Linked DNA regions of Homo sapiens: region 1 is linked to region 2. The links are contacts of gene promoters, found by promoter capture Hi-C in blood cells and fetal thymus (Javierre and others, 2016). All regions are on one chromosome and are shown on one strand. The core of a region is centred on a gene start or on the middle of the fragment in contact, and the rest is flanking DNA. Distances in the headings are between cores, read along the strand shown.

The links. Contacts are between HindIII fragments. The CHiCAGO score rates a contact against its expected background, and 5 or more counts as called.
Region 1: a fragment that was not itself captured here is called in contact with the fragment with the promoter of TCF21 in region 2 in 1 of 17 cell types (M1 macrophages); the score reaches 5.0 in M1 macrophages.

The regions. Positions count from the first base shown.
Region 1 is chr6:133,183,744-133,187,538 of GRCh38, forward strand. No RefSeq gene overlaps it. Among named protein-coding and RNA genes, the nearest start is that of EYA4, 56 kb to the right of the region's middle. The HindIII fragment of the contact is 166 bases long and covers 2,166-2,331 here.
Region 2 is chr6:133,886,642-133,890,632 of GRCh38, forward strand. It overlaps TCF21 (transcription factor 21), which reads left to right and starts at 2,472. Exons shown (of 2, transcript NM_003206.4): 1 at 2,472-3,206. The coding sequence starts at 2,757. TARID (TCF21 antisense RNA inducing promoter demethylation) reads right to left here and starts at 2,365. Exons shown (of 9, transcript NR_109982.1): 1 at 1,963-2,365. RefSeq lists an enhancer at 2,020-2,933. The HindIII fragment of the contact is 7,636 bases long and covers 1-3,991 here.

The DNA.
Region 1 (3,795 bases), core at 999-3,498, 700 kb before region 2:
CACATACATTTCTACAATCAACTACAATAGAGGCTAAGCATATAGGATGAAGGAAGGTAATTTGATATATGTACATGACCTCAGCATTTTGAAAGAATGTCATGTGTAGAGTATGGCATTAGGGTTGTGGGATTCTGGAAAGCACTCCAACGGAAATAGGACTATCAGTAGTGGCACCTGTGAGCAGACTTCAATAGAAGCTGCATAACAAGCAGTGACAAATCAAAAACTTGCATTCAAAGCCCTGTGTTCATTGCATCTGTGTTCTTTGAAAAAAAAGATGCGTAAAAATAGATGCACAAAATAACCCTTGCCCTCTAGGAGTTAACATACTAATTGAACTCATACATACTTCACATACCTTCACACATATCTTCACATACCTTCAAGTATAGGGAGAAAAACCCTGTTCATGTCATAAATATAATCAATAACATCTCATGGTTAATTACAGGAATGGTAGTGTTAATATAAATGCTGACCAATTAATTACCAATAAATACTAACAAATTAGTGACCAATAAATATTTTCACCAGAAAGCACATCAGAGAAATATATTTCATGTTTTTTGTGATTTCATAATAGGAGCAGGTTACCATTTTCAGCAATTACACATATCATATAAATATTTTAATAGCTGAGGGCATGTATGAAAATATAAAGACCCTATCAATATGCATTTGCTAGTTAGTTTACAAAAAATATGTGTCATCAGAAGGCGAAGAATAGTTAATTTACTGACCACGAATGTCCTCTTGTTTTCCAGAACTTCAAATTCTTATATTTTTGAACAACATGTTCTTAAATTACAAAAAGAACATAAAAATGTCGGGCTCAAAACAAAACACACTGCCAGAGCAGAAATAATAGAAAGATAACATATAACTGGAATTCTGATTCCCAACTATTAGTAAAAAGCCATAAACCTATACAGATCCCTTAGCATCTCTGGGTCCATTTGACCAGAGATAGTTGGAGTTAGGTCAACGGGGTCTCTTTAGCCCTTTCCTACTTCTGAATTATACAAACTGTATGATGTCAAACTATAATACAGAGAAAACAGTGCAGAGACAAACCTGCCACTCTAATTTGTCCCATGACAATAAATGTTGTTAGGCCTCAGATTCTACAAAGATAAACTGATGAACTCAATCTTTAAAAAAAAAAAATCCCTTAAACTTCTGAAATTTTATATTGTTTATGTATATTTGGAAGTATATTTCAGGGTACATTATACTTTATTGTGGGTCAATAGGGGGAGCTCTCGCATTGCTTTTTTATGTATACCACAAATAATAGAATTTACTTTACCTTAATTTTAAAGATTGGGCTGGATTATTTCATTACAATTAGGTACTTATAAGCCAGAGGCATCTCATTACTCACTACAGCAATATTAAGGTAGGCCATGTACTCAGCTGTGCCCCTTTAACTTTGAGGGCTTTTTAATCATCCATCAAAGCACACGTTTGTTAGTCTGCTTAAACCATTGCAGAAGTTGTTTTGTTTTCTGTTTGTTTTTTGGACTCCAGCTTCTTCAGATGAAGTTAAGGTCTATGTTTGATTTGTATTCAAACCTATAAGAGTTAAAGGCAGGAGGAAAGGTTTATGGAGATTAAAAATCAAGAAACCATTTCATTAGGTCTGTGCTTCTGTGGGTTGAACTTGCTACACACACAACTTGACGTGTGTACTTCAATTATTATTATTCAATTATATATTTCAGGGGCTTGGCATCTTTGCTCTTTACTGTTTTTTATTTCTTCATGTGTTATATATAATCCACTTCCCTAGCTCACAGAGGATAAAAGCAGTTCATCATAGAATCTTTAGGAAGTTTGCTTTCTCTAATTGAAACAGATGTCCCTTATGTTAATTAGAATATGAAACATGGGTTGTTAACTGTTAGCTTTCAAATGAAACTCATACATTAATGTTCAGGTAAAATGAAAATGAGACAACACAAGTTTAATAGACATTTCTTCAATAAAGTTGTGGTTTATAGTTAGGATGAAATTTTATTGCTTACTGTGATTTATACCTACTTTATCTAAAGGTTCGTGGTGGCCAACAAATAACGGCTCATATTTTTTGGCCATTTTTTCCTTGAAAACACAACTACATTTTAAAATATGGAAAAGTAATTTATAAGGGAAATGAAAAAAGCTTACATGGAAGATTACATAAAATACATCTGTCTTTTCAAGCCATTGAGATATATAAACAACTCGTTAAAACCTTAAAATGCCAAGAGGAAGGACAAAAGATTCTTTTATTGCAATGAACTTTTGAAAAGATGTCTTTTTTTTTTTCTTTACTTTAAAGGAGTAAGCTTTTTACTTCACATCTAAAGATCTTGATTAAATTTTTTGTGTGTATGTGCGTATATTTTAAAATAGTATCACTTGAGGTTCTTTCTTCCGAGGAATCAGTGATAGAGCAAATACATAAGAAAAATAAACATATTTGGCAGCCAAGAAGCTTTTTTTCAATGAAAGTAGAATCTTTTGTTTTTGACTGGAAAAGTTTTTCTTTTTATGTCAAATGAAATTTTAAGATCACCTATGAGTTTGGAACCAAATCCTTTACTGCCAAATCTGATTCCAATCCTTAAAATCTGTTTTTGTAATACTGCCAGCCATGCACTAACTTTAAATAGGTAGCCAGACATATTGGCAAAAATATACATGGTTAATCAAATAAAACTATGTAGCAGTTTGGAAACAATCAATCAACTTTCAGAATCTTTTAAGTATGAAGCTGCTGTGAAGACATCATGGCTTGCAGTGAAATATTGCAATAAAACTCCATAAGCAGCTGCTTTTGAATTCATCTTCTCCTTTGGTTTTAAATTTTCATAGACCTGCCTCTTAACTATGAATTTTATAAGCTTTTGAAAGAAAAAAACCTGGCAACCTACTATTACAACTAACAAAGAAATGAGGAATGGTAATACAGTTGGAAGCTGAACTCACTGCAAGAACTGCCAACTTGAACTTATCTAGTTAACTATTACTGTACGGATTGCACTTGAAACGGCTTTTGATGGCTGACATTATTTTACTGAAAAGAATATGTGTGAAGGTACTTAAGCACTTTCTCTTGTGTTTTATAGCTTAAGTTTCTTTTCAAATAAAAGACAACATAATCTAAAAAATCCAGATATCCCAACATTAGCAGATTTCATTTCTGTTAGATGAGAAAACTATTACTATTCTTTAAATACACACCAATGACAAACCCACAAGACCTTCACTTACTTTTTTAATTTTATATTTTAAAAGAGGAACAAAAATTGCATTTCACAAATGAATTATTTATGAGATAATAATTCTAACCCTGCAGTTACATTAGAATGTTTTATTGCTTCTACTTGGTAGGCATTCTTCTTTATTGTAATCCTAAATGTAATTAATTTGTAATCTTAAGACTAGTGAACAATTTGGCTTCATCAAAACAAAATGTTTGCTATTATCAAATATTAAAATTCAATTAGAAAACACTGAAAAAACTATTCCCCCTCCTTTTCTGTGTCTGAGATCAATTTTGCTTATCTCAGTGGTGGCTAATAACGTTAGCTCCTAACAAATTGCATTTCTGTATAAGGTTTCTTTCTGTGTGTTCTTTGCGTGTTGGGGGTGGGGGTGGGTTTTCATTTTACTAAACAGTTTTTGTTTCTATTTTCTTTCTTTTTCTCATACATGAGCTAAAATCTCTCCAGATTTGGTCATAGATGAAAATCTAAGGATGATGTCTGAAGTGTAGATGGGTATTTGGAAAATATATGACTTACA
Region 2 (3,991 bases), core at 1,222-3,721:
ACAAGAAGTCATTTCTCCCACCCATTTGTCCCTAAGTGTTTATTAGCAGGGATAGACACAAAATTTTAAAAGAAAAAAAGTATTTTTCATATGAATATTCTCTCTCCAAGACTTCATATCAAGATACATAAGCAACAGTATTCTTCGACTCTTACTCCCAAACTGGAAGCCATCTTTTACAGAATTTTAGAAACACTCCAAAATTTATTATCAGCCCACTAGCCTTTCTCAGCCCAAATGTCTTACTGCAAGATAAATGGACATGGGACTTAATTATTTCTTATATGGCTATGAAGAAAAATAATTGCTAAGCATAAAAACCAGCCTATGACATGAGGCTAGTTTTACATGCTTCCAGAAATTGGTACTTTTAAGTTTCCAACATTGAAAAATATACAGACAACAGAAATCTTTTCAGTGGTACATATTACTATGATTTTTACTATCTCCCCAGACAGCCTGAGCAGTCCATTAACTAAGGTGTAACAGAGACCCAGAGCCAAAAAGAAAAAAAAATGGCTCCAACAAGAAAAATCACAGCTTAATGTATGCAGTAAGGCCATAGTTTGGATTTATAATAATTATCACATTCCAGAGCCCAAATTAATTATTTGTAGTTATTTTGCAGATATCTTAGTAGCTACACACACACACACACACACACACACACATTTCACAAAGTATTGGCCAATGCCCATTTTCACATAGCTCTTTAGTCTAAAAATAACTTTAACTTTCATGTTTTACCAAGACTGAGAAAAGGGAGAGCAAATCAAAGGAAACTAGTTGAGGAATTAGTGAAGAAATTTTTAACAGGCCTGCTGGGTGTTCTCTCACTGCTGTCTTGAACCTCAGATTAAATTATTATACTTTCTGTGTTGTAGTACTGGGTCATTCGTATGTGAAGACAAAGGCAACTTCAACTTGATATTTCTGTCATCCCTGCTGTGGGAAGAGTCCTTTTCCTGGTTTATAACATCAATCATTCTCACAATAAATCTTAGGGTGGATGTGGTCATTTAAATCTCCACCTGCACAAACAACAGAAAATAAGAGAGCTCATAAATCTCTACACTGGTGATTAACAAATTTTGGATCCTCAGCGAAGATATTATGGAAGAGGGGTCGCTAATTCATTAATAAAGACTGATTTGCTGACAACCTGTTTAGTTTACAGCATAGGGGGAAAGCAAACAAGACCCTGCTAGCAAAACAAAACGTTAGAGGTTAGTGAATTCCCAGCTGAGCCTAGGATTAGAGATATGATATCTTAATGTAGGAGAAGCCTTCAGACCCTAAGCCAACCACTCAGAAACCACTCTTACATTTTGCTCCAGCCCCTCAACTTCAATGCCTACCTGCAAGGGAAGAAAACCTGGCAAAGAAATTGTAAGAGAGATTTATGCCTTCAGTCTCCCTGGTTTCATTGCACCAATTTCATCCAATCCCTAGGTTCTGTTTCCCTGTGCTTTTTCTACCTACTTCCCAGGAGACTTTCTTATTCTCTAGGAAAGGTGGTTCGAGCTGGGGTTAAAGATGGAAAAGAACCTTTCTCAAAAGGATAGTCTTGCTTTGTGTTGTGTAATGTCAGCTTCATGTGAGGAACACTGGCACCTAACAGGCTGGAAGAAGACAAAGACAGCAGCATTGAAAGGGACGGTGCATCACAAAAAGTGCCAGGCAAGGTGATGTCTGAGAGCAACAAAGACTCTCAAGGCAATATTAAATGCATTTCTAGAAAAGAAAAAAAAACCGAGGGGAAAGTTTCCATTTATTAGGAAAAGATGATCAACTAACATAATGTTTTCCACACACTCATACTGCCCTCTCATTCCCTACCCACTCCCACTAAGCTGTGTGTGGTTGGGTTTGAGTGTGCAAATCAAGTATGTTTGTGTACACGTAGGCAGTCCTTTGATGTCTTGAAAATGACCAGGTGTAGGTGAAATGTTTTATACTTACTTTTCCATCACCATAAAGATTCTAGGAAGCACTTGTCTTCATTTATCCCGGGGAAGGTGGAAGATCTCGGTAAAGCCTTGGAGTCTTATGAGGTGTTGGCAGGATGCGGTTGATACTCCCTGTATTTTAATTCGTGTTTTCTTGGGAGGAGAGAGGGCATGGAGTGTAGGTGGAAGGCCCAGAAAGAGCCAAACGATCTAGTCGTTTTTCTAAAGTTCTCAGTAACAACCAGTTGTGACGTCTTAAGAGAGAAAGAAGGCCTTTTACAGATGGACAGAACATGCTGCTTCTCGGCCCCGGCCACAGTTGGGAGAAGGTGGCTGGTAAGTACATGATGCAGTTGAGTTGATTTACATTACAAGTTGCAAATCAGGGTCTGTGCATTGAGTTTCCCTCCGGTTGTGAAAGGGGTCTAAGCGCTTTGCTGGGGCCTGGCAGGCCCCTCCCTGGGCTGCAAGGATCCGCCCCTCTATTCCCCAGATAAATTCCTAGTGTCCACCAAATTCCTCAGCGCTCGCTCACCCTCCTCTACGGCCACGACTCTGGGAGTGGGGAAACAGAGAGCCGGTTCCTCTGCTGCAGAAGTCCTCGGGGTTCCTTCTCACAACTCTGCGAAGGGGAAAGGGTTGTGAGACCCAACCAGACCCCAACTCCAGCTCCCAGCAGGAGGTGGCTGCGCCACACTCGGGAGGCCTCTTGGTTTCAGGGTCTCTCTGTCTCTCTCTCACCCTCTTCCTCGCTTTCTCTGTCTCTCTGTCTCTCTCTCTCTCTCTCCCTCGTCCACTCCCCCAAACATGTCCACCGGCTCCCTCAGCGATGTGGAGGACCTTCAAGAGGTGGAGATGTTGGAATGTGACGGGTTGAAAATGGATTCGAACAAGGAATTTGTGACTTCCAACGAGAGCACCGAGGAGAGCTCCAACTGCGAGAATGGGTCTCCCCAGAAGGGCCGCGGCGGCCTGGGCAAGAGGAGGAAGGCGCCCACCAAGAAGAGCCCCCTGAGCGGGGTCAGCCAGGAGGGGAAGCAGGTCCAGCGCAACGCCGCCAACGCGCGAGAGCGGGCCCGCATGCGAGTGCTGAGCAAGGCCTTCTCCAGACTCAAGACCACCCTGCCCTGGGTGCCCCCCGACACCAAGCTCTCCAAGCTGGACACGCTCAGGCTGGCGTCCAGCTACATCGCCCACTTGAGGCAGATCCTGGCTAACGACAAATACGAGAACGGGTACATTCACCCGGTCAACCTGGTGAGTGCTCCCGGGGCTGCAGCTGCAGTCCAGGCGCGCCCGCACTCCCGCCTGCGGTGGGCGCGAGTGCGCGCGGGGCTGGGAGTGGGGGTGTGGGCGCGGCGGTGACTTACACATCTCGACCACCGCGGGCCTAGAGCCTCCAGGGACCGGAGGCGGGCGGTCTAGACACGGCCCTCGCTCTCTGCCCTACCAGCCCCCGGAGCGGGAGTGATTTATGCGAGGGTTTGACGTGGCAGCCCAATTAAAAGTTTGCAAGTGTGTTGAGCTGGCACAGAGGAGGGATCCCCCGCTCCCGCTCCATCGCCATCCTCCCTGGGGTGCAGTGGCTGCTGCGGAACTGAGAACACTGACAAGACGCTGCGAGCGGACAGGCATTTTGTTAATCCTTTTTTCTTCTTTTAGCAGAGAGTGGAACTTGATTTTCCTTTCCTTGTAAATAAAAACACCCAACTCCGTTTCTTTCACAAGCATATTTAGGACCATTGGATAAGGACACATCTATGCCCCCCAAATTGTCCACGTAAGCCCTTAACCGCTTAAATATTCTGTGCTTCTCCTATAAGTGGATTAATATTTTTAAATCCCAGAAGTTCTAGTAATGATCAGCAAAATCAGTAAATCCTCACTAGTATGAGTGTAATAAATACTAAAATAGGTCACTCTCACCCAAGATTTAAGAAATGTTACCTTTTATCTTAAAAAGTAATGCCCATTGAGCCTAATTTTTTAACACAAAAAACTGATAATCATTGAGTCTACTTTTTTCTCAAATGTATTTTACT